Regions from separate parts of the Homo sapiens genome. Here regions 1, 2 and 3 are each linked to region 4. The links are contacts of gene promoters, found by promoter capture Hi-C in blood cells and fetal thymus (Javierre and others, 2016). All regions are on one chromosome and are shown on one strand. The core of a region is centred on a gene start or on the middle of the fragment in contact, and the rest is flanking DNA. Distances in the headings are between cores, read along the strand shown. Region 1 has its middle 33 kb from the start of LINC01702. Region 2 overlaps DYNLT5 (dynein light chain Tctex-type family member 5). Region 3 overlaps SGIP1 (SH3GL interacting endocytic adaptor 1). Region 4 holds the start of C1orf141 (chromosome 1 open reading frame 141).

What was found. The method cuts DNA at HindIII sites, captures the fragments that hold promoters and counts their contacts. A CHiCAGO score of 5 or more calls a contact.
Region 1: a fragment that was not itself captured here is called in contact with the fragment with the promoter of C1orf141 in region 4 in 2 of 17 cell types (naive CD8 T cells and activated CD4 T cells); the score reaches 5.6 in naive CD8 T cells.
Region 2: a fragment that was not itself captured here is called in contact with the fragment with the promoter of C1orf141 in region 4 in 1 of 17 cell types (naive CD4 T cells); the score reaches 5.1 in naive CD4 T cells.
Region 3: a fragment that was not itself captured here is called in contact with the fragment with the promoter of C1orf141 in region 4 in 6 of 17 cell types (total CD8 T cells, total CD4 T cells, naive CD4 T cells and 3 more); the score reaches 7.7 in total CD8 T cells.

The regions. Positions count from the first base shown.
Region 1 is chr1:67,486,349-67,493,016 of GRCh38, reverse strand. No RefSeq gene overlaps it. Among named protein-coding and RNA genes, the nearest start is that of LINC01702, 33 kb to the left of the region's middle. The HindIII fragment of the contact is 4,993 bases long and covers 1,457-6,449 here.
Region 2 is chr1:66,776,016-66,782,488 of GRCh38, reverse strand. DYNLT5 (dynein light chain Tctex-type family member 5) reads right to left here. Exons shown (of 5, transcript NM_152665.3): 4 at 6,086-6,210; 5 at 3,442-5,238. The coding sequence ends at 5,035. Among named protein-coding and RNA genes, the nearest start is that of INSL5, 22 kb to the left of the region's middle. The HindIII fragment of the contact is 3,603 bases long and covers 424-4,026 here.
Region 3 is chr1:66,744,871-66,751,749 of GRCh38, reverse strand. It overlaps SGIP1 (SH3GL interacting endocytic adaptor 1), which reads right to left. Exons shown (of 25, transcript NM_032291.4): 25 at 611-6,879. Among named protein-coding and RNA genes, the nearest start is that of DYNLT5, 4.1 kb to the left of the region's middle. The HindIII fragment of the contact is 1,356 bases long and covers 4,113-5,468 here.
Region 4 is chr1:67,132,549-67,139,216 of GRCh38, reverse strand. It overlaps C1orf141 (chromosome 1 open reading frame 141), which reads left to right and starts at 4,247. Exons shown (of 8, transcript NM_001276351.2): 1 at 4,247-4,287. It also overlaps a transcript of IL23R not described here. RefSeq lists an enhancer at 1,504-2,014. The HindIII fragment of the contact is 7,094 bases long and covers 3,923-6,668 here.

The DNA.
Region 1 (6,668 bases), core at 2,704-5,203, 350 kb before region 4:
CGACTACTTTTGTATTTTTAGTAGAAACGGGGTTTCACCATGTTGGTCAGGCTGGTCTCGAACTCCTAACCTCAGGCGATCCACCCACCTCCGCCTCCCAAAGTGCTGGGATTACAGGTGTGAGCCACCACGCCCTGCAAAAGGGATATTTTTTAATATGCCAGGGAATGTCTTCCCCCTTAGGGGATGAACCGTTGGGAGAAACCAAAACCCAGGGCTGTTTCCTACATGCCTGGCAGAAGCCTTGTTTGGGGGTTGAGGGTGGAACAGAGGGAGGCTAGCACTTTTCACAATGTTGAAGCAGACCTGCTGTTCTCAAAAATGAGCTTTTCTAAAGGGCTTATTCACAGATCAACTGGCTACTTTATTTATTTATTTATTTACTTACTTATTTATTTATTTTAGATGGAGTCTCACTCTATTGCCCAGGCTGGAGTGCAGTGGCACCATCTCGGCTCACTGTAACCTCCTACTCCTGGGTTTGAGCGATTCTTCTGCCTTGGCCTCCCTAGTAGCTGGGACTATGGGCACGTGTCATCATGCCCGGCTGATTTTTGTATTTTTAGCGGAGATAGGATTTCACCATGTGCCAGGTTGGTTGGTCTCAAACTCCTGACCTCAAGTGATCTGCCCACCTCAGCCTCTCAAAGTGCTGGGATTACAGGCGTGAGCCACTGCGCCCGGCAGAAACTGGCTACTTTATATGCTTCAGATCAGCATGCCTCAAGATCTTCAGTCACATTGCCAGGGACTGATGGGTTCAAGGTTAATTACATGATTCTATCCAACCAGGATTTATCGTGCCCACCTTGCGGAAGAGTCAATTAACCCCTCTTGAGCTTCTGCTGCCTGTGAGGCACTCGTGGACAGTTCCATCTACAGTGCTAAGCTTAATCCTTCTTAGCCACCCTGTGGGTGCATGCTGTTGCTACCCACTTTTTCAGATGAGGCAACCGAGGCTGGAAGAGCCTGAGAAACTAGCTCTAGGCCTCTCCCCTGAGTGGTAGAGAAACCAGGCTTTGAACCTAGGGCTGTCTGACTGCAGGGCAGTGTGCAAGTCACAGCAGGAGCTAGCACCTTGACTTTGTCCTTTAATAACACCTCTCACAATTGTAATTCATCAATTGTATCATCATGAGTTTATTGTCTGCCTTCCTGGCCACACTGTCTGCTCTAGAACGACCAGAGCCATGCCTGTGTCGTCCACAGCTATGTCCTCAGCACCAGCAAATAATGGGCCTGGCACAAAATGGAAACCTGCTTTCATTCATTAAAAGAATTTTTAAATGAATGAATGAAATTAACAAACAAAAATGACATAGATATCCTGCTCTGTAGCATGTGATGATGGTCACATTCTCAGCTCCTTGCTAACTCTCACCTGGCTTGTTAAAATAATTTCCTTATTGTCTCCACATTTCTGCTAATTTTACCCTCCTGCATAAGGGAATAAGCTTGATCTTTCCTTCTTTTTTTTATCATTAAATTACACTGGAAGGCTTGATCTTTCTTAAAAAGCACACTTGAGCGTGTGTGGTGATTCAGCACTTTGGGAGGCCAAAGTGGGAGGATCCCTTGAGCCCAGGAGTTCAAGACCAGTCTGGGCAACATAGCAAGACTCCATCTCTACCAACAACAACAAAAAATAGTTGGACACAGTGGCACACACTTGTGTTCCCAGCTAATCGGGAGGCTGAAGTGAGAGGATCACTTGAGCCCAGGACGTCAATGCTGCAGTGAGCCATCATCATGCCACTGCGCTCCAGCCTGTGAGTGACAGAGTGAAACCCTGTCTCAACAGAAAAAGGGGAAGAAAAAGCACACTCATAGCACATTGCAGGCCTCCTGAAAGTTGTTACCAGTGCCCCATTCCCTGCAGGACAGAGTCTGAGCTACTGGGAAGGGCTTCTAAGGCTATGTGCTTCCCATCTGCCTCTGGAACCTTAGTTGGCTGCTCTGAGGCCCAGGCCTTGCCCCCGGCAACCTCAAGCACTTTATAACACCAGCCTTTCTGAGCTACCTCACTGGTTCCCAACCTTGCTTTCTTTACCAGAAATCTCCTCCCCACCTCCTATCAAACCCCAACCCCATGCCTTGCTTTGTGTGCCTGATAGACGTTAGCTCACTCTTTTTCCCCAGATGTGGTAAAATTCACAAAACATGGGACGGGTGCAGTGGCTCACACCTGTAATCCCAGCTCAGGAGTTTGAGACCAGCCTGGGCAACATGGCGAAACCATGTCTCTACCAAAAATACAAAGAAATATAGCCAGGTGTGGTGGCATGTGCCTGTCGTCCCAGCTACTCCAGAGGCTGAGGTGGGAGGATCACTCGAACCCGGGAGGCGGAGGTTGCAGTGAGCTGTGATCGCACCACTGCACTCCAGCCTGGGTGACAGAGTGGGACCTTGTCTCAAATTTAAAAATAGACAAATAAATAAATCGAAAAGACCCAAGGCTTCTTGGAAGAGGTAGGAATCAAACTGGTCATTGAAAGTCATGTGGGCATCATTCAAAGAGTGGATTTGAGGAGGCACAGAGAGGACCAAGAAAGCACATTAGAGGCCCAGAGAATGAGGCTTGAGCAAACCCTGTGGGAGAAGGGGTGTTGAGCAGATTCTAGAAGGATGTGGCTGAAGCAGAGGACATGTGGGCACAGTTGGAGATAGGCCTGGAAAAGTAGATTGGGACCAAGTGTGTAATGAATCTGTAGTCAATGAGGAACTATGAAATGTGAAAATTGCGGCTGGGCACGGTGGCTCACACCTGTAATTCTTTCACTCTGGGAGGCCAAGGCAAGAGGATTGCTGGAGGCCAGGAGTTTGAGACCAGTCTGGGCAACATAATGAGACCCTGTCTCTCCAAAGAATTAAAAACTTAGCTGGGCATGGTGGCACACACCTGTAGTCCTAGCTACTTGGGAGACGGAAATGGGAGGATTGGGTAAGCCCAGAGGTTTGAGGCTGCAGTGAGCTATGATCACACCACAGCACCCTGGGACAGAGCAAGATCTTGTCTCTACAAATAAATAAATATGATCTGAAAATTGAGTATGAAATACTCAGAATACTGAGATCATGGTTTAGGAAGATAACTGCAGGGTCTACAGGAGGATGGGTTTAAATGGGGAGAGACTAACTACTAGGTTTGCACACTCAGATGCCTACAGAGGGCAGACAAGGAACAAAATTGCAATAGGTACCTGGTCAACTGAACCACACATACCTTCTCATCAGTGGGCTGCCGCTGCTCAGTTCCAGCCAATGCTGCCATGTAGATTATGAGTCCAGTGTTATCAGATTTTTCCATTTTTCAGGGAAAGCCAAACAATACAGATTTTCATGAGATGCTAACTTGTTTAAAATTTTTATTTTTAATTAATTTAATTTAATTTTAATTTTTTAAATTTATTTATTTTTTCTTGGGAGACGGGGTCTTGCCCTGTCATCCAGGCTGGAGTACAGTGGCGCGATCACAGCTCACTGCAGCCTCAAACTCCCTGGTTCAAAGGATTTTCTCACCTCAGCCTCCCAAGTAGCTGGGACTACAAGCACGTGCCACCACACCTGGCTGATTTTTGTATTTTCAGTAGAGATGGGGTTTCACCATGTTTCCCAGGCTGGTCTCAAACTCCTGGGCTCAAGCTGTCTGCCCACCTCGGCCTCCCAAAGTGCCGGAATTACAGGCAAGAGCCACTGTGCCTCGCCCAGGACTCTAACTTTTAAGTATGAACTTGTAAGTTAAAATGACTCTCAGACCACCTGTGTGGAGTCTCTGAGAAAAGAGTAAACTATTTTAATAGTCCAGGAAGAAGTGACCAAGTCCTTATCTAGGGCAGTGGCAATGGGAACCAAACATGGAAACAGACAGCACAAAACCTGGTGGAAGTAGGATCCACTGAATTTGATGACTAACTGGATGTAGAAAATGAAGAAGAAATGTTGAGAAAGACTCTGATGTTTCCAGTCTATATGCCTTAGAGGAAGCTGATGCCCCAGGCAGCTTCATAAAATGGAACAAGAATAGATGTTGAATCAGAGAGAACTAGCTCAAACGCAGCTCTACCACTTACTAGCTATGTGACCTTGAACATGTTACCTAACGTCTCTGAGCCTTGGCTTCTTCGTCCATTATATGAGGTTAATCTGAATGCATCCCTCTTGAGTCATTTATACAGATCAAATGGGGTCATGCACCTAGTGTGCTTAGCACAGAGTGTGGCACATAGTAAGAGCTCAAAGGTTTGTTGTTGAAATTTATTGGCAACATTCCTTTACTCTACGTTCAGCAAGAGCCTCCACTGTTTTCTTTTCTTTTTTTTTTTTTTTTTTTTTTTTTTTTGAGATGGAGTCTCGCTCTGTCACCCAGGCTGCAGTGCAGTGGCACAATCTTAGCTCACTGCAACCTCTGCCTTCCGGGTTCAAGTGATTCTCGTGCCTCAGCCTCCCGAGTAGCTGGGATTACAGACACAAGGCACTGTGCCAGCCTCTTTTTTTTTCTTTTTTAAGAAAAACTCTCACTCCATCACCCAGGCTGGAGTGTAGTGGCATAATCTCGGCTCACTGCAACCTCTGCCTCCAGGTTCAAGCGATCCTCCCACCTCAGCCTCCAGAGTAGCTGGGACTACAGGCACACACCACCACACCCGGCTGTATTTTTTGGTATTTTTGGTAGAGGCAGGGTTTCGCCATGTTGCCCACGCTGGTCTCGAACTCCTAACGTTAAGTGATCCACCCACCTCAGCCTCCCAAAATGCTGGTATTACAGGCATAAGCCATTGTGCCCAGCTTAGGTCATGTCATTTTTGGGTTGGATTTTCTGACATGTGTCACCAAAAGATTCCTAACTGATTTGATTACAACTACTATTACCATGACTTTTCCACTTTGATTCCAAATGATGTCATAGGCTTTGTAGAGTTTAAAGCTGGCAGCCCCTGGGAAGGCTATCTCTAGTGGTGGTACCTCGAAGACGAGGTCCTGTTCTTGGATACCTCTAAGATGAGAGGATGAACAGAACACGTATTTGTGAAAGGTCCAAGGTACTCTGTGAAGGTGCAGTGAACCTGTCAAAGCTCAGCACACCTTACATCAGTTCAGCATACTTTCAGCCCCATTTTGCTTGTTAGAGAATGACTGTATCAAGGAACCAGTGGTGTGAACTGGATTAGTTCACTTATTAAAAACATGTTTTTATGTTTACATTAACTGCCTTCCTCACTAAACTGTCCGCTTTGCATATATGGACTTTCTCATCTTTACAGACTTTGCAGACAGAGAGAGCCTTTGAGATCATCTAGGCCAAAGTTATCCAACGTATAGTAAAGGGGTCACTCTTTTCAAAGTTGAGAAGTGGAGTCAGGCACTGTAGCTCACACCTGTAATCTTAGCACTTTGGGAGGCCGAGGCAGAAGGATTGCTTGAGAACAGGAGTTTGAGATCAGCCCGTGCAACATAGTGAGAACTCATCTCGATTTTGTTTGTTTGTTTGTTTGTTTTTGAGACACAGTTTCACTCTGTTGCCCAAGCTGGAGTGCAGTGGCGTGATCTTGGCACACCTCTGCCTCCCGGGTTCAAGTGATTCTCCTGCCTCAGCCTCCCAAGTAGCTGGGATTACAGGCAGCCACCACCATGCCCAGCTAATTTTTGTATTTTTAGTAGAGACAAGGTTTCACCATGTTGGGCAGACTGGTCTTGAACTCTTGACCTCAGGTAATCTGACTGCCTCGGCCTCCCAAAGTGCTGGGATTACAGGCATGAGCCACCGTGTCTGGCCCCATCTCTATTTTTAAAAAAAGAAAAAGAAAAAGAACTTGGAAGCAGGAGGAAGGAGTGGAGGATAGAAACTGCAATACAGATTCGTGGACCTTACCTTGACCTACTGGATCAGGATCTCAGGGATGGGCCTAGGAATAGTAGTAGCTTCACGGGGTTGGGTAAGTCAGTTGATGTCTTTAAACCTGAGTTACTATGTGTATAAAATGGGGGCAATAATTCTTCTTAAGTTTGTTGGGAAGATCAAAGCCAATGATGTAAGTAAAGTGTCCAACCAAGCCTGGTATAAAAATGGCTTCTGAATTAAAGTATGTAATTCAAGCTATACCCTGACTTCAGGGAGAACCCTGCCCAGGGAGTGTATATCCCCACCTTCACTGCCATCTGAGGTATGAGTGGGGTACAGTAGCTTACCTGTGACAATGACAGCAACACATTTGTTGAATGTTTATGTGATAGGTACTTAGCTCTAGCACTTAACTAACATTGACTTATTAAATTCTCACAATAATCCTATGAGGTAGATTGTTTTTTAAAGGCCTGCTTTACAGATAAAAAACTCAGGTACAGAGCAGTTAAGTAATATGCCCAAAGTTATAGCTTCCAAGTATCAGAGCTAGGACTCTAACCTAAGCAGTCTGGCTCCAGAAAACCTAAAGAATTTGTAACAGTAAGCTTTACCAAGGCCTGCTTGTCCTAAAATAAAAGGGTAGGGTCCCCAAGTCCCAAAGTGTCCTCCTTTCTTTCTCTTTTTTGAGACAGAGTCTTGCTCTGTCACCCAGGTTGGTGAGCAGTGGCGCCATCTCAGCTCACTGCAATCTCTGCCTCCCAGGTTCAAGCAATTCTTCTGGCTCGGCCTCCCCAGCAGCAGGGATTACAGGCATGTGCCACCATGT
Region 2 (6,473 bases), core at 976-3,475, 350 kb after region 4:
TCCATTTGCTTGGTAGATCTTCCTCCATCCCTTTATTTTGAGCCTATGTGTGTCTCTGCATGTGAGATGGGTTTCCTGAATACAGCACACTGATGGGTCTTGACTGTTTATCCAATTTGCCAGTCTGTGTCTTTTAAATGGAGCATTTAGCCCATTTACATTTAAAGTTAATATTGTTATGTGTGAATTTGGTCCTGTCATTATGATGTTAGCTGGTTATTTTGCTTGGTAGTTGATGCAGTTTCTTCCTAGCCTTGATGATCTTTACATTTTGGCATGTTTTTGCAGTGGCTGGTACTGGTTGTTCCTTTCCATGTTTAGTGCTTCCTTCAGGAGCTCTTTTAGGGCAGGCCTGGTGGTGACAAAATCTCTCAGCATTTGCTTGTCTGTAAAGGATTTTATTTCTCCTTCACTTATGAAGCTTAATTTGGCTGGATATGAAATTCTGGGTTGAAAATTCTTTTCTTTAAGAATGTTGAATATTGGCCCCCACTCTCTTCTGGCTTGTAGAGTTTCTGCCGAGAGATCTGCTGTTAGTCTGATGGGCTTCCCTTTGTGGGTAACCTGACCTTTCTCTCTGGCTGCCCTTAACATTTGTTCCTTCATTTCAACTTTGGTGAATCTGACAATTATGTGTCTTGGAGTTGCTCTTCTCGAGGAGTATCTTTGTGGCATTCTCTGTATTTCCTGAATCTGAATGTTGGCCTGCCTTGCTAGATTGGGGAAGCTCTCCTGGATAATATCCTGCAGAGTTTTTTCCAGCTTGGTTCCATTCTCCCTGTCACTTTCAGGTACACCAATCAGATGTAAATTTGGTCTTTTCACATAGTCCCATATTTCTTGGAGGCTTTGTTCATTTCTTTTTATTCTTTTTTCTCTAAACTTCCTTCTCGCTTCATTTCATTCATTTCGTCTTCCATCACTGATACCCTTTCTTCCAGTTGATCACATCGGCTCCTGAGGCTTCTGCATTCTTCACGTAGTTCTCGAGCCTTGCCTTTCAGCTCCACCAGCTCCTTTAAGGACTTCTCTGCATTGGTTATTCTAGGTATCCATTCATCTAACTTTTTTTCCAAAGTTTTTAACTTCTTTGCCATTGGTTTGAATTTCCTCCTGTAGCTCAGAGTAGTTTGATCATCTGAAGTCTTCTCTCAGCTTGTCAAAGTCATTCTCCATCCAGGTTTGTTCCATTGCTGGTGAGGAGCTGCGGTCCTTTGGAGGAGGAGAGGCGCTCGCTTTTTAGAGTTTCCAGTTTTTCTGCTCTGTTTTTTCCCCATCTTTGTGGTTTTATCTACTTTTGGTCTTTGATGATGGCGATGTACAGATGGATTTTTGGTGTGGATGTCCTTTCTGTTTGTTAGTTTTCCTTCTAACAGACAGGACCCTCAGCTGCAGGTCTGTTGGAGTTTGCTAGAGGTCCACTCCAGACCCTGTTTGCCTGGGTATCAGCAGCGGTGGCTGCAGAACAGCGGTGGCTGTAGAACAGCGGTGGCTGTAGAACAGCAGTGGCTGTAGAACAGTGGATATTGGTGATCTGCAAATGCTGCTGCCTGATCGTTCCTCTGGAAGTTTTATTTCAGAGAAGTACCCGACCATGTGAGGTGTCAGTCTGCCCCTACTGGGGGGTGCCTCCCAGTTAGGCTGCTCGGGGGTCAGGGACCCACTTGAGGAGGCAGTCTGCCCGCTCTCAGATCTCCAGCTGCATGCTGGGAGAACCACTACTCTCTTCATAGCTGTCAGACAGGGACATTTAAGTCTGCAGAGGTTACTGCTATCTTTTTGTTTGTCTGTGCCCTGCCCCCAGAGGTGGAGCCTACAGAGGCAGGCAGGCCTCCTTGAGTTGTGGTGGACTCCACCAAGTTCGAGCTTCCCGGCTGCTTTATTTACCTAATCAAGCCTGGGCAATGGCAGGCGCCCCTCCCCCAGCCTCACTGCTGCCTTGCAGTTTGATCTCAGACTGCTGTGTTAGCAATCAGCGAGACTCCGTGGGTTTAGGACCCTCTGAGCCAGGTGTGGGATATAATCTCCTGGTGTGCCATTTTTTTAAGCCCATTGGAAAAGCGCAGTATTAGGGTGGGAGTGACCTGATTTTCCAGGTACCATCTGTCACCCCTTTCTTTGACTAGGAAAGGGAACTCCCTGACCCCTTGCGCTTCCCGAGTGAGGCAATGCCTCGCCCTGCTTTGGCTCGCACCCAGTGTGCTTCACCCACTGTCCTGCACACACTGTCTGGCACTCCCTAGTGAGATGAACCCGGTACCTCAGATGGAAATGCAGAAATCACCCATCTTCTGCGTTGCTCACGCTGGGAGCTGTAGACCGGAGCTGTTCCTATTTGGCCATCTTCCTTCTAATCTTAGTTCTAACCACTTATCTTCGTGAACACTGTGTTTTATCCAGCCTAGGCTTCCTGTAATCTTCTGCCTGTTGAAATTCTAATCTCTCCATCACAGTCTAGCTTAAATTTTCTTTCCTTTCATGAAGGCTTCCTTGATTCTGTTAATTGGATAAATGTATTCTGGATTTTTCTTATGACAACATATTTGAGCCTATACTGTGGTCACTTGTGTACTTCTCTTTTCACCCCTATAGGATCCTAGTTCCTCAGGGGTTGAACTGTGTTTGCTATTATCTATGCAGCTGGGAGTTATGTAGCACAGTGCAATGCACATAATGATAACTTTAAAAGTAAAAATGATTTTTATTTCTAGGCACTGTCAAGTTATGTGGTCCATGTCCTCAATATGTCTTCAGTCTATTAATAGTAAGGGAAACAAAACTAGAATTCAAAAGTTAGCTAGAGAACAATCAAGAGCTCAACCACGAGAATAATCAGAGGAGAGAGAGAGCAGGAGGCAAGCAGTGAATAGAGAAGGACTGAGAGAAAAGGTAAGACCTGAATGTGACCCTGAAAAGCGAAGAAAGTGGCTTAAGTGGGAGGGGGTGTTCCAAGGTAGGAAAGCATGAGTGAAGGCTCTGGAGCAGGGATGGGCATGGCTGGTCTGGGAAGAAGGATGGCACTTTAGGAGAGGAAAAAAATACCAGGGAAGTTCAGGGCATTTCAAAGTAAAACAATTCCTTCAAATTTATAGTGTCATTGTTTTAAAAATTTCTCATGATAAGGTTCTGTGTGATAATTTCATTAAAAATTTCTCATGATAAAGTTCTGTGTGATAACTAGCTTCTCCCAAGTTAGTTGCAAGGAGTGAGTTTTTACTATGTATTCTTATACTGCTATATAATTGCTAGAATTCATCACTGAGTATCTGAATTACAGTGTGTAGCAATATGCTGGCAAACTGCTTTCTTTTTTGTTTTTTAACTGCCGTCATGTTTTGCAGTTTCGATTCTCAACACAGCCTGGGGAAGACAGTAAGAAATTATCTCATGGATTAGAATTTAGAACTCTAAAACAAACAGTCATTGTTACAATAGACTTTGTATATGTTAAAGAAGTTTCTTCATTTTCATTTATTCATACAAAATTAGTGATATGATTACCCCCGCTGTTGTTCCACGAAGGGAGATGTTCACCAATGTGTAATGAAAATATGAAGCTCATTTACTTGTTATACGTGTAATCTAATCCAGATTGAAAACTGTTCTATGGAGATTGACAAATATTGGTTGTGATAAATTATTACATAGACATATTCCCACTAATGCACTAACAGAAAAAAAAAAGTGAAAATTGACAAATTCATTTTGAATAATCACTTTAAAAGCCAGAAAATAGCAGAAGGGAAGGGATTTTAAAAGTATCCATTTTTTACTACATGTCATTTTTAGGGAAAAGTAAGACACCAAAACATTTTAAAATTAAAGCATTAACTGGTTTTCCATTTGCTAAACTCTTTTTGATATGAATGATAAATCATTTTTTCCTTAAGACTACAGCATTGCTAATTTTCTCCATATGTGTACAATTTGTCTTTGACCTTTAACAAATGTCCTCTAGGCAGTCCACTTACCATCCAAGAACAACGCCACAACATCATTTTACTTGCACACAAAGACTTGAAAGCTTCATAAAAATAAATGATCCGTGGCGTAAGATACATTAACCAGCAGAATAATAAGCTATTTCAGCCCTGTAAATTTTAGCACCCGTCTATTCAAAAACCTCACTGGGTCACTTTAGTATTAAATTCATAGGAGTAAAATGGTAACTACACATGCTTTATTTGTTAAGGTGCCAGCCATATATTTTGTGAAAAAGTTTGTTAGCCTAGGATATTTAAAAGCAATGTCTCTTTCCAATAAATGATTTTATGTGTTACAGACACATTTAGTATTAAGCATCATGTATATTTAATATCACAATGTCTACTTCAGTGTCCCAAAAAGCCTTTATTCACTTTATAGTTTCCATTACTGAAGAGCCAACTTTCGGTTCTCCCACAATTGTGTAAAGTGCAGGCAAGCCACAAGAGCTTCTAGTTTTAGCTTGCAGCCCGTGGGACCACGATAATTGTTATGAAGCCATTAATTCTACCTCAGCAGTTTCAACTGTCAGGTACATGTAACAATAATTGCACTTAATGAATGCTGCTCAATTTATTAAGTACAAAATGAAAACCAGTATTCTTTTATATGCAGCACTGAGGCACATTATTTATCATTTGTGTATACCATGTTGAATATTCTACTATCATTTATTGGTCAGGGTATATAGCCATAGTTTTTCTAAAGCTTCTTTTTATTAAAAAACAATGCAGGAAATTGTAACACTCTAATTAAAGAATAATTAAAATAATTAGTACCAAAACAAATATTTAATAAGAATCTATGTCTATGGAAAGCAATCCAGCAAAACCAAGATCAAGTTCCTGCTTTAGATAAACAAGATTCTTTCTGTGGCTACCCTCCCCTCCCCAAATCTTTACTAGAATATGAAAAAATTCAAAAGCTTCCAGTTGCTTGAAATATCAGTGTTGTTTCTTTCTCAAAGTTTTTGGCAGTAAAACTTTTGTGTACAGACATACAGCCTGCCTCAGAATTTTCAAAAGTAAGAGCTAGATTTCTTATTTTCAATCACTCAAGGTAAACTGCATAGACATTTGCAAGAGCGAAGAGAGAAGAATTTCTGAAAACATAAGATGAAAAGGTATCACTTTTAGGATCCCAGAGGCATCTGCTTCCAATAAGTATGCTCTGCCTGTTCAGTTGTCCAATGTGAACAATCACAATTAGTTTATACCGTGGAATCATCAAGTCCTTGACCTGGGCTTTAATAACCTAGAAATTTAAAAAAAGGGAGGGTCTTCATTCAGCTACATTGAAACTCAAAAGCATTAACCTTTGTTATAAATATAAGGGATTTAATTTAATAGCATGATGCATTGTAGATACTTTCAGTGATTGTTTTAGAACCGTAAGTATGATTCCCTTCAAGCATGGTCCCCTTGAGATAGAACATTCAGGAACAAAATTTTAACACCAGCAATAAATCAACCTTTTCTAAGATACATGAAATAATTATAATCCAGAACACAGAATTTAATAAATTACATTCTTTGAAAATTTATGTTAAGATGGCTTCATGTCAAAGAATGTTGGCATTGGAGTTACACTGTCTTGTTCATGTCTAATTAAGAAACCATACATCTGGAGTCTCCTGTAATATAACTAATCATTAATGTTTATTAAAGAGTTTGTTATCAAAAAGAAAGTAGAGGAAACCTTGATGAAGTGCAGCCCTGGGGTTTGTAAAAATAGAAATGTGCTTGAAGACCACAATGTCTGTATTTGATGGCACTCAAAGAAGCTGCCTTAGTGAAGAGAAAATAATCATTAAAATGTTGTATCTTTTACAATAAACACTTTTATAAATGGGGCAGTTTTATACACTTTTACATAATGCATGCAAATGATGCTCATGATTGTTTTAGACAAAGGCTTTATGTATATACACACACACACACACACCCACACACACACATATATGTAGAATATGACCTAATTATAAATACGCATTTTAACTGTTACTGCAAATTAATTCCCCTCATCAAAAAAGTAGAGGGTCCGTTGTACTTTAGCAAATATTCTAGCTATTGTTAACACTTTGGGCAAATCACACACGTACCTCAGAAATGGTTTTAGTCATCTGTCTACAGAGCTCTGGTTCATATTCTTCTACTTGTAGATAGCTGGTTACTACATCTTTCAAAATATGATTGACGGTGACCACAGGAAAATGTTTGGGAGGACCTGAAAATACACATAAAATTTATTTCTAAAAAGTAATTTCAAATCACACCCACCCACCCCATAGGCTAATCAAAAGAGTATGGAAACATGGAGGGATTTAATCTTCTGGGTGGACTCTATTGAAAGAAACAAGTGGCTCTAATTAGGTTTCCTGTCAAGTGCTCTGAGAGAGAACAAGAAGACAATATTTTCGTACATTTACGTGACTATCTCAAAAGTGTGTTCAATACTGCTGGGGTTTGACCTTGAAAGTCTCTTCCTTC
Region 3 (6,879 bases), core at 3,541-6,040, 390 kb after region 4:
GCTTTTCCTCTTCTTCAGCGACTATCCCCAGCCTAAGCCTGGTTTGGGCCTCCCCAAACCAAAAGCAAACAAAATAAACACTATAGGGACCCTCCTGTAGTGGGCAATCATTGGAAGCAGAAACAAGATGCCTCCAAGCATCTAGCCAAGGGCATGGCTCTTGATGAGTGTCCTGCTGGAATTAGCATTAGCTGACAGTAATACATTGGGATTCCGGTGGAGCACAGTGTTAGGATAGTGTTGGAAGAAGAGAAATAGATATTTTTGCCCATCCCAATCTCTACTCACAGAAAGATAAGAACAGGAAAGGATTGTTGATTGAATATCTACTATGGACTAGATAGGAACTGCTAGGTGATGAATAAACATTATCTCATTGAATTTGTTCAGTGACTATGACATAGGGGACATTACTCTATTTTTTTTTAAGATAAGGAAATGTAGAATCGTTGAGTAACATGCTCAAGTCGATATTTAAATCACAGAGCTGAAATTTGTCTAACTCTTAACCCTTGACCTTTGACAGACCTTTGGCCCACCATCCCTACCCTAAACATGGAATGAAGTTTTCCAGAAATGCGGGTAAAATTTTAAGAGGCTGACAGCAAAAGATATTCACAATTCAATTTATTTTCATATTTTTCATTTATTTTCCAGAAAAAGAAATCACATTTCAGTAACAACTTACATATAGAATTAAACTTTGTTCTGGAATGGGAGCCCTAGTTGCAGTAACGTGTCATAATAAATAATTGCATATTCAGGATTTTGTGAAATAGGTGATTGGGAAAATTATGAACAAAAAACATTTACAAAAATTATTATTTACAAAGAGTGATATCCATACTATTTCTAACTTATAAGGCAAGTAATGTTAAGATGGTCTCATGATTATCTTCAACAAGTCAATTACACACTTTCCTGTCACCATTGCCCAGCAGAGAGCTTTGCTGCAATTCTGTGAAGGAGCAAGTAAGTCTTCGCTTCCGTTGTTGGTTTTCTCTTGAGCACAGCATAGAAGCAGTAAAGCTTTCATTACAGACTAAGCAGTAATGGCTGTCAGAAAAAAGTATACTCTTTTGAAATAGACGTGTAGGAAAAAGGCTGGGAATCAACATTTTGACTAAATTTTGAAAGTATCTTGAGTATTTTAATTCACAGTTTTGTAAGTATTTTATGCCCAAGGTATTTTTGTGAAATTATGTACTTAGTACAAGATTAAAAAGAAATTTAGTGTATTTTTGCTACATAGATCAAAGAGAGCTCTAAATAAAGGCTACCACCAAATCAAATTACACACAGCATTTTCCTTAATTGACAGGATTTCATTACCTATAGAAACACAGCAAAATCTTTCTGAGATTCCTAGATTCTTGCATTGTTCAAGTTTAAAAAAAATCAATGCCTTACATGGCCACTTAGTAAGAATGAAAATTAATATCCGAGTATTTAATTCATATGATCTTTTACTATACAAGTGAAAAACAAACAAAAACTCTTTTTAATCGAAAACAATAGTGTTCAAACAGCTTAAAAAGCCAGCTGTATACATTACTGCTTGGCCTGTGGTGAAGCTCTGTTCATAGATAAGATTAATATATCATCATATCAACACTTGGCTTTTTCAAGAAAAATTATTCAGCAGCAATTTTCCAATTCCCCTTAGACAGAGAGGAAAGAGACACACACACACACACACACACACACACACACCCCCACACACACACAGAGAAAGAGAGAGAGAGAGAGAGAGAATATGAATTAGATAGGAGCCAATCTCTTTCATGTATGTCCATTTAACAAAGCAAGAACTAAATTCTGACCTGAAAAATCAACACAGCTATATGAATTATCATTCTAGCAACTTGAAAAGGGAAAAAAATCTGACTTTGGATCTTGGGACAGTGGTTCTTGTGATAGTTACTTGTTGTATGATTTAAAATACCTTAGAGTGATGGTGAATGAATAACATCAAGCATTTACTTTGCGAGAAAAAAAATTCATAAAAGTAATGTAAAACTGAATGAGCGAGATGGAATTAACATTTGTATGATATACTCATTCAATGGAACGTTTAAAAATTATAAATGGCTTATGATCTATCAGGCTGATTCACAAACTCTGGATGGATTAAAAACTGAACTATCTTTAGAGAAATGTAAAGTGATTCAGTTTGATTCTTTTCTATATGATAACAGACAATTTAACCAGGAAGTTTTTAAAGAAACTTCGTTAATTTGGTATAAAAGTAACTGATTGGCAAAGTAAAGCAAAGCAAAAAAAGAAAAAAAAACAGCAAAAAAAAAACCCTATGAAATGCTCATTAAAAGAGTATAGAATCTCACAAAATCTGTGCTAAACAGTGCACTGCTCTTAGCTTTCCCCAAAGTGTTTTTAATATAATTTCTGACAAGCTGATGTAAAAATACTGTCAACATTGATCTATCATGATTCAGTTTCCTAAAGCTGTTTAGTAAAACGTTACTGGAGATTATTCACTGGCATTAATTCCACACGGCAAAGAATTGGAAACATCTTCAACAGATAGGGGTCTGATATGCTGGTCATAGGTGCAAGCCTTAAAAATAATACAAAAATTAAAATAATTTTATTGTTTTGTTTTGAATATTTTAGATGATAAAGTTAAATTCACTAAGAGATACTAATGAAATTTAAAATAGATAACAATTCATTTGAAATGACAGGAATTCTCTTAAAATTAAAACAAAATTCCAGAAGCATTTTTTTCAAAGCATTCCTGGTTATTTTATTTACAATTATTGAAGGATATATAAACTAGTGTTAAAAGAAAACTTTTCCAAAGGTTTCTCAAGGTGTGCTTAGAAAAAATTTTTTTTACCTGATTCAATAACTTTCTTAAGCTTCATTAAAACACTAACATTTATTGTCAATGTCCAAGGAGAGAGAATTATAGTATAGGACCATTTGTTCTCAGACCACAATGAACATCTTCCAGAACACAATTTGTAAAATACTGGAATATTGGTGAGCATAGCCCAAATACACTTTACTTCTTTTCTTTAAAACATTACGGGACATTTAAAAATATATTTGTTTTTTGCCAAAACATTTTTTACAAGGATAAAGATGTATTTAAGGTAGGCAAGGTATTACTCTAGGGATAGAAGGAGGCAGTTAGAAATCAAAGGAAAAATAATTTTAGAAGTTAAACCTAGAGAATAAATTATTATACCCATGGTCAATGCCAACAAATAGGTGTCTTTTCCTCATAGACATACCCATTTAGGAGAGAAATCAGATATTAAATGTGAGGGCCAATCAAGAGGTTCACCATGGTCAACTCAACAGACTTTACATTTGACATTCCTTCATGAAATATATTTAGATCTTAATTAGATGTCAGCAGTGCAACTCTAGCTTGCAGAAGATGACAGAACATTGAAGCAATGACACAAGAGAAAGGCAAGTGTTTTGTTGTTGTTTTTAATATTTAGAGACTTAAGCAATGTACTCCTATCTCATTTTCCTTCCATACACTCCACTGACAAAAAGGAACATTAATGGTAGCCATATTTAATTCATAAGTGAGAGAATGGCATTTAGATACTGTTTTCCACATGAAAAAAAAGCCTAAAGGAGCAGGGAAAATACAATAAAACCTTAAGAGGAAAGTGCACACAGTAAAAGATGGTGAGGCTGGTCATCCAAATAGTCCCTTTAATCAATGTAACTTGGATTGATTTGTTCATTTATATCAACAATCTAATTTGACTCATTGCATGGACACATCATATTATATTAACTTTCAAAGCTATATTTAGAGATCACTCTTGTTTTGATATTATTAAATATAATGTAACACTTCCATTTTTTAAAAAAATTGCTGATCAGAAAACCATGTGGCAAAATGAGTACATTTAGACTGAATGGGATTTTGCTCAAATGTATAATCTTTTGGAAAAGGAAAAGCTTAAACACAGACACATACACACACACTCATCTGTTTAGTATGTATCTGCATATTCTACTGTATTGTTCAATTTAATTTACAGCCTGTGGTTATTTTGAGAAAAAATATTCGTGCAACTCTTTTAGAATGAGGCTACCACATGTTTGTAAAGTCAAAAGCTTACAAAATAAATAGGTTCAACTCACAAGTTAGAGATCTGAATGTCCCTTGCAAAGAAGGAAACATTGATTAGGATTTTGTATTTGAATAAATAACAGCTTGCAACTTCCCTTCTACTTCAAGTCTTTTAAGACATTGAAGAAAAGGACAGAAATATGAAAATGAGAAAATGCATTTCAGGCTACTTTGAGACTGAGATAGTATAACAGAGTAACTTTAAGAAAAAGATAGGGATTTTCCTAGGGAAAAAAATTTTTTAAGATTGGAGGAAATTAAGTGGACTGAATGAAAAATAAACTGACTAGAAAAATGGTTTTCATCTTAGAATTTAATGCTTAAAATCTGATATAATGTCAGAACTAAGAAGGACCTTAGAGATCTACTAGAGCAATGATTCTCAAATTTGGAGCACTTATCAAAATGTATATTCCCAAATCTCATCCCTAGAAGTTTATGCTGTCAATACAAATTTATCGATGCCTACTGTGTATAGCTTGTATGAACTTGATTATACATGTTTCCTTATAATGCCACAAAAGGTGGTATATCTGAGTAAAGTAGAATCATGGAATTTCAGAGATGGAAGACATTGATATGTGGTAGATCATTTTGTGTTGTTACGGTGTTTAACAATGTTTATCAGTGCCTACTATCTTCCAGGCATAGTGGTGACCAAGCCAAAATCATTAATAAGTGATGATACAAAACATTAATAAGTGATGATACCAATCATATTTTGAGAAGCAGTGATTCTTTTTTGACAGTTTTGTTATTGGAATTATCCTTATTTTGGTAATGGTTTTTCATGGTGCCTTCTACCTTGGCATTCAAATGGAGTACGTATAGTGACATAAAACAGATTGTTTTGTTCAGGGTGGACAAAGCAATTAAGGCGTTTCCTTTGCAGTCAGAATAGCTGGGTTACTTTCAGCTGCCGTGTCATTTTGGGGAGATTATTCTATTTAAGCCTCAGTGTCATCACTTGTAAAACAGGAATTAAAAAGAGTACTTACAATTTTTTGATTGATAAGAGAATTAAATGAGCTAATATCTCTAGTGACTGGTACATGGTAAACACTCTGTCAGTTTTTATTGTATATCATTCAATTACTGTGTTTTTACAAGTTTGCTTATAAAGCCTCAAAAGGTGGTTTATCTGAGTAAATTACAACTGTGGAACTTCAGAGTTGGAAGACACATGATAGATCATTGTGTACTGTTATGGTATTTAAACCATGCTCTGGGGAGCCCCAATTTAAACTGTTGGAGAAACTCCTGCATTGCTTTGAGCTGTTTTGCCTACCAGGATTCCATGTGCAATTTTATTAGAAAAAAAGCCCTGCTGTTAAGAAAAGCTTGAAAACCACTGGCAATCCCAACTCCCCATTCTAAAGATGAGAAACTGAAAAGGGCAGTGATTTGTCCAATATCATACGGCAGGAGTCAGTGGCAGAGCCAAGGTATTATAGTTATCTGCTTTTCTAAAAGAAGATTTAGAAGTGGAAATACTTGTAATTATAGCTCAAACACTCTGCTGACTAAGAATATATAAAACAAAAAAAATTCTGTAGTTTGACTGAGGGATTCCTATCTATTAACTCAAAACCGTTTGAATTGTGGACATTCTTTCTTTTACAGGTGAAATATATTCCCAAATACCATACAGTGAATTTCCATTTTGGCTGTGGGTGTAGAGAAGAACACAGCTTTAAAAATGATTAAAAATTTAATTCTTAGTAATTATAAATTTCTATTATGATAAAATTCAGACTAATCCTTGATACAAATTTATTTTTAAAAATTTCACGAAAATATGGATTTTATTGGAAAAGAAAAACAAAATTTCCATGTTGCCAAAATAAAGTAGCATCATTTATACTTTTTATCTTGCTAAAGCAGAACCTTTTAAAGATCATAACGTTCAGGAAATGGTGTTCTGGTTAACTAGAACAATTTCTTTTTGTTTTAACCCCTAGTACTGAAAATAGTTTTATTACCTACTAGTTCATTTTGTTCTGACTTGGGAATAAAATGAATAAATGAATCTGACTTAATGTCTTTGATAACTGAGACTCTTTCATTGCCTGGGACCATTTTCAGGACATGAATTCTTATTCTACAGTACTGTGGATATAGATGTAACAGGAGATTATAATCTACAAAATTAAAAAGAAACAACAAAATGTCAAAATGCAAATCCCTGATACCAGCTTATTGTGTTATTATTTGATCTCTTTTCTGAAAGGTGAAGGGATACATTTTCTATTGAGGTTCTGGTTACTCATAGTTCAATCATTTTGAAATTGTTGACTCCCATTCTGTTCCATAAAGACCAGTTAAGAGATTATAGGATTTCTTCATAGTTTCTAATTTAATCCCTAGAAAGATTTGAATAATGTTAGAGATTACTGTAATCTATGTTTTTAATTAAATTTTTAAAAATCAGTAAAATTATTTTTTGGGAAAAAAACCCTTGTGTTTAATTACTAATTCATTCTAGATCTATACAAAATAAAACAAAATAAAATATAAATACAAAGACATGAGAACCAGTAATATTTACATGTTTTTAATATGCTTTGTATTAATATTCAATTTTTTAAATGAATTGATTACTTAAAAACACATTGTTATATTCATATGCTGGATAATTCTCAGTTTGCTGCTGCTTACTCTCCATTGATTTTGGTGTCATAAATTCCATGTTTCATGGAATTTAGAATTTTGCATTTTCTATTTTGGTTTCAAAATCAAATTGGATACCTTTA
Region 4 (6,668 bases), core at 2,998-5,497:
GGCTTACTTCTATAGAAAAATAAATCAGACTGGTTTATACACAAAGAGAACTTACTGGATCATGTTAGCTGAAGAGGTCTAGAGTAGCTCTAAGTTCAGTGATCGCTTGACCCTGGGCTCAAATGATACTGCCCAGGTCCAGCTCTCAGTTTTCTTCCCCTGGATTGACTCCACTCTTAGGATCTTCATAGTGGCTCCCATAGCATAAGGCTCAAATTGTCATAACAGGCAGACTAGAAGAGGAAGTCTTCTTCCCTGAAGGCTCAAAGTCCCGGAATAAAATTGTCTGGGCCCTGACTGGCCTCCCATTAGTCACCTGCTTCTCCCTGAGCCAGTCACTGTGGTCAGGGTGTTGTGATCTCATTGGCCTAACATAGATAACTTTCTCCATCCTTAGAACCAGGGGGCTGCAGAAGTTCTGAAGTCCCTGTGCTGAGGGAACAGCATGAAAAGACACAGATATAAAAAGCCCAAAACTTTGTGAAAATTCCCATTAAGTTACAAGGTAGTCACTTTCTGTACCATGGGTTTGCTGAGATAAAGCTAGAAAGACAATCAGAACTCAGTTCAACATAGAATGGGCTCAGATGGTAGAAGTTCTATATTCTATGCTGCATGGTTTTGACTGAATTTGGAAGGGAATGTCAAGCCTAGGAAGGAAACAAAGGGAGAAAAAAAACACACACACAAACAAGAAAGAATCCCAGGGTACAATGATATTTACAGCAGGCAGAGGAAGAAAAGTAGGAGAGAGTTGTGTAATTGAAGCCAAGGGAAGGGAATGTTTCAAAGAGCCAGAAGTAAAACGTGTCCAATTCAGAAGAATTGTCAAGTAACATAGGACCTGAAAGACGTCCATTGGATTCACAAATAAAAGAGACAGAAGGTCATTAAGTGACCAACTAGCACATTATCTAGAATAAGAGAAGTAATGGGCAGAAGGGATAACAGGTAGTGATCAGAGAGGACCTGTTAGAGCTTAATATTTCAGAGTTAGGGGATAATGAAGTAAAGATAGCTTTAATCTGGAAAGATAATGAGTTTTGAGGCAAAACTATTGGCTTAATGGATTTATTATGGAAAGGAACATTGGGAAAGTCCCCAAATCTGTAAAAGTGAGAAATGCCTGGGAATTTGTTAGTAAATATGTATGGGGAGATAGTTGTCATTAACCTCAGAAGAGGCAGCTTTTCCTAAGGAAGAAGAAACTTAAAGATGTGAAAGGAACATTAGGAATGGTGAAGAATACTGACACTTCTCCCAGGCTTCATGGTTTGTGTAGGGCAAGGGAAAAAAAATGCTCTTTTCTCAAGAGAGGACAGAAGGCAGGGGTGGAGAATCACAGGCTTTTCACCATTTGGGGATGATTAAGTACAAATTTTGATACTTTCTAAACCTAGTAGGTATATAGTAAAGAATTTATAGGAAAGACTCTCTTGCCCAAAGAAAAGAAAGTCCGGCCTTTGCCCTTGCCTTCTGAGATATAATCTCTGGGCCCTAGGAATGTTATGCCTGATAGAAAGAGCTTTATTTGCCTGGAGACCTTGAGTCATATGAGATAGTCTAACAATGTGATTTAGGATGGGGAGGTGGCCACACCTGCATAGTCTTAGAGTAGGGACTGGCCACTCCAGAAAGATCAACAATGTGACTTAAGGCAAGGGCTTTGGGTCACGTGGTATCCATCAACTTGGAGATAGAGATTAACCATGTGGTTAATCAACCGATTATGCCTGTGTGATGAAGCCCCACTACAAACTCTGAACACAATGATTGGGTGAGCTTCCCCGGGTGGCAGATCTCCATGTGTGCATTGTCATTCAACAATGCTAGGGAGTAACCTGTCCTGACTCCACAGGAAGAGGACAATAAAAGCTCCACATTTGTTATTTCGGGACTGACTCTGCCCTGTGAACTTCTTTCCTTGGCTAGTTGTAATCTGTAACCTTTCCCTGTAATAAACTATAACCCTAAATACAATAGCTTTCAGTAAGGTCTGTGAGTCTTTCTAGCAAATTATCGAACCTGAGGGTTCTATTCAGGGTTTTGACGGCCCCCTGAACTTGGTGTCAGAAGTAAGGGCAGTTTTGGGGAATGTGCTTTCTAACTTTGTAGTTGGCCTACTTCAAAGGAAGCAGGAAAAAGTCTGCAGATTTTATTTTCTTTGTTTTCTTATAGTATACAGTTTATATTTTAAGAAATCTGTATACTTTTAAAATAAAACATTCATTAGGCTCCTTTACCCAGTATTTATCTATAATAGGTTCATGAACTCATTCAGTAAATACTGAATTTAACTGAGAGCAATTAAAGTAGTTAGGAAAAAATCCACTTGAATTCTTTTTTGTGTACATTTACCAAACATTTGTTATTAAAGAGAAAATACTTTGTACTTTGTGTTATATTAATAATTGTATTACTAATTATAAGATGCTGGGCAAATCACATAGTTTCTTTGAATTTCAGTCAGGTCTTTTCTAAAATCAAAGATAATACCCTTTCCATAGATACGAATTAAGGTTTAAGAATGAAAAGTAAAGGATGAAATTAGAACTATTTTAAAGTTGTAGCCTAGTACCTGACATGCAGAACGTGTTCCATAAATATTAACTGAGATAATGATAATATTCTAAGAATTTCATAAGATTCATGCTTTACAAATTTTATTGACTGAAGATTAATGAGTAGCTAACGTTTCTGAACTGAATTCTTAAGAAGCTAATTTTCACCTCTGTACAAATTTTTGAGCTGAAGGTATTACAACAATCTTAGACAAATCACCACTATCAACTAGATTCCAGTTATCAATTCCATACAAACCATTGTTCCTGAATGTATATGGCTTAAAAAATATAATAGAATCAAGCTACCTTGGCCAGTCGCAGTGGCTACTCACATCTGTAATCCCAGCACTTTGGGAGAACAAGGCAAGAGGATCACTTGAGACCAGAAGTTCAAGACTAGCCTGGGCAACATAGTGAGACCCCTGTCCTTACAAAAAAATAAAAATAAAAAAATTAGCCTGGCATAGTGGCATGCACCTGTAGTCCTAGCTACTAGGGAGGCTGAGGTGGGAGAACCACTTGAGCACAGGCGATTGAGGCTGCAGTGGGCTATGATCACACCACTGTGCTCCAGTCTGGGCAACAGAAAAGAATCAAACTACCTTCTACTTTTAATGATTGTATTTTTGTTTTTTAAATATTTGAAATAAATTGATTCCAGTGTTTTCATGCATTGACTATTAATATCAATTTCTAGCCAAATTTGGATTGCTACATAACTATACTTTTTTTTTTTTTTTTTTTTTGCAGTTTTGCCATTGCCACTAGCACAGACTTGTGATGATTAATTCTGGTGCTTTTTTTCCTTTTCTTCTCACAGATGTTGAAGTGCTGTTTTTTAAAGCTTTTCCCCCTATTTTGATGCATCAGATAAGGTACATTCTTGGAATGATGAACAACCCCTGACTTAAAATGTAACCAATATTGTGAAATTCCCCATCATTTTAAATTAAATACAAGCTGTTTTCAAGTCAGTCATTTTTAGATTATGGCTCTAAAAATAAATGATTCCCATGGCCTTAGTGCATTTTCTGCTCACACAAGTGAGCAATAAGGACAAATGGTTCCTTAGGATACAGTAAATACAGCAGAATGTATGTCAGTGTATCTCCATTATGTCTCATAAAAATGCTAAGTGGTATGTGTGTGTGCAGCCAAGTCTGCTACACAACTTGCGTAATACAGTGGTGATTTTACTAACCACACGGGAGGTTTCTTGGCCTTGGAAATAAGAATGGTTTTTTGTTGTTGCTGTTTTTAATATCATAAGCCATGAAAGCAATCTTCCATCAAATATTCAAATATAAACTGTTGACTTCCATTCAGACCTGCAAGCTGTATGGTGGACTTTGTAAGCTTCTTTTTGAAATTCGATGTTTCCAGGAAAGCACAAAAGGAGAAAGGAGGTACAATAAGGGGAAACAAAGTCACTGTTCCCCAGTTCTTTTTACTTGATCTTCTTCTTTTACTTGACTCTCCTTCCACTCCTTCAGCATAATCGGTTTTAATATCCGTAAGCATCTGGGGAGTCACCTGGGCTTTTAGTGACAAAAGTCTGTGGGCGAAGCCCCTCTGAGAAGAGAACTCTGCTCTCTAGGCCTTTCAGAGGTAGGCAGAGCTCGGCAACCGGTTTCTACGGACCGAGGACGCGTTGCTAAGGGACTGAAGGGTGGGGGCGGGGCGAGTAACCCGCGGAGCCAGAAGAGGGAGGAAAGGAGATGAGGTTTGTTTCAGGGTGCGGAAGGGTTGGAAGAGTTGAAAATCAAAATTTGCATGAGGGTGGGAGGCGAAATAGGAAAAACGTCGTTTTACATAAACGGCCTTTCTGTCCCCGGAGTCGGTGGGACGTTCTCCAGCGGGGCCTGGACCGGGAGAGTGTGGTTGAGGTCAGGCAAGTGTGGGACCGCGGCGAGAGGCGAGCCCGGGGGGCTCTTCCAGGTTCGCGGAAGAACCCTTTGCATCTTCTAAACTAAATATTAATGAGCTTCCTCAATGTTGCCCTTAATTTTGCTTTCCCATGAAACGACCATAGGCATAGAGCGTTTGAGTCGGGCTTCCTATGTTTCCAGCGAGATGGAGGCACCTGGGGGAAGGTGACTCGGGGCCGGGCAAGAGATGCGAGAGGCTCTGGGGGCCGCTTAATTGATACATTTCCAAATTGACGACTCCCAACATCCTGGAATGGATGGTGGAAGCTGATCGCCCCTGCGGTAATTGTGCTGCGATTTCGAGCTGGCTAATCAATTCTTGCAATCATTATCTGATTAGTCGCCCACAATAATACTCCACAATCCACGTACATCATAGTTTTAAAATTCCTTAGTAGTTTTTCTTAGAAACTTCCCTTCCAGGCCGGCGCGTTGGCTTACGCCTGTAATCCCAGCACTTTGGGAGGCCAAGGCGGGCGGATCACTTGAGGTCAGGAGTTAGAGACCAGCCTGGCCACAGTGGCGAAACCCCGTCTCTACTAAAAATACAAAAATTAGCCGGGCATGGTGGTGGGCGCCTGTAGTCCCACCTACTGGGGAGGCTGAGGCAGGAGAATCGCTTGAACCTGGGAGGCGGAGGTTGTAGTGAGCTGAGATCGCAGCCACTGCACTCCAGCCTGGGTGACAGAATCAGTGAGACCGTCTCAAAAATAAAAATAAATAAATAAGGGACAAGAAAATGCATAATGCGGAACTAAGCACATAGGTCGGGTTTTTAAATTAGTTCTCAGTGCCTGGGCTGTACTAGCTTGCTGGGACTGTCATGACAAAACATCATAGACAGAGTGGCTAAACAACAGAAATTTGTTTTCTTACAGTTCTAGACACTAAAAGTTGGAAATGGAGAGGTGGGCAGGGTTGTTTTCTTCAGAGGCCTCGCTCCTTGGCTTGGGGTGGTGGCTGCCTTCTCACTGAATCTTCACAACGACTTTCCTCTGTGTATCCTCGGTGTCCCAATCTCCTCTTCTTATATGACACCAGTCATACTGGCCAGAGGCCTACCCTAACAACCCCATTTTAACTTTACTCTTTAAATGCTGTATGTCCAAATACAATCACAGTCTGAGATCCTGGGGCCTAGGACTTCAACATACGAATTTAGGGGCAACATAATTCAGCCTATAATATGGGCCATTTATCAACATTTTAGATTTAAAGAAAAAAGATTCCCCTAAGTCTATCCTTGGAATGTGAGATGGAGATAACTCAGCCAGTTATCTAATTATTGAGTAAACATTAATCATTTAACAGATGAAGTGAGTCCCTACTGTGGTCTCAGTAGTGGACTGTGTCAGATAAGAGTGTAAGAAGTGGCCTCGTCCTCAAGGAGTAAGCATTTGAACTGATAAAGCCACATAATGGAAGTGAATTTTAATTTAAGCCTGCATTTTCTAGATAATTTCTCAGGCCTTTAGTTTGTAACTTTAGAGATTCTTAGTTTTCCTGAGTTGTTTAGAACTTGCTGAAGAACTCTTCTCAGCTGAGCCTATTATATTGACGACACTGGGTTTTGTTATTTTTTGTTTGTTTGTTTTTAGTCCCAAAGGTGCTGTTAAAATAAAATTGTTCTCTTAAAATATTTAAGACATTTTTATTTTAGATATGACTTAGTCTCTGATATGCTAATAATATTGACCTACAATTTTTGTTGAGAGCAAGTTTTTGCAGTGAGGCCTGTAGATGATTCACTGTGAGAGTAATTGGGAATTCATTCTGCCCCAATTGGCATGGCCTCTATTTCATTGTGTTCTTTAAAAACAAACGAACAAACAACAACAAAAAACTGTCACTACTGTGCTAGAAATTAAGAACATAAATCCAAGTTTCCTTTCAAAACAATTTTACCAAGTTTAGATTGGCAATAACCCCATTTTATAATAATACACTCAACTTTTTATTTCATCTTCCAGTAAATCATTATGAAGTAACATCATTTATTACAGATAAACTAGGATTACTCTTCCTAAAAATTTATATTCAGAGACATCTCCAAATTAAATTGTAATTTTCAAATCCCCGTTAGATGTAAAACGCTTTGCCTGAGGCTGAGAGTCGGAGGTGGATAAGTCAATTCTTGCTTCAAATGAGCTTTCAACCCAGTAAGGAAGAGATCTGT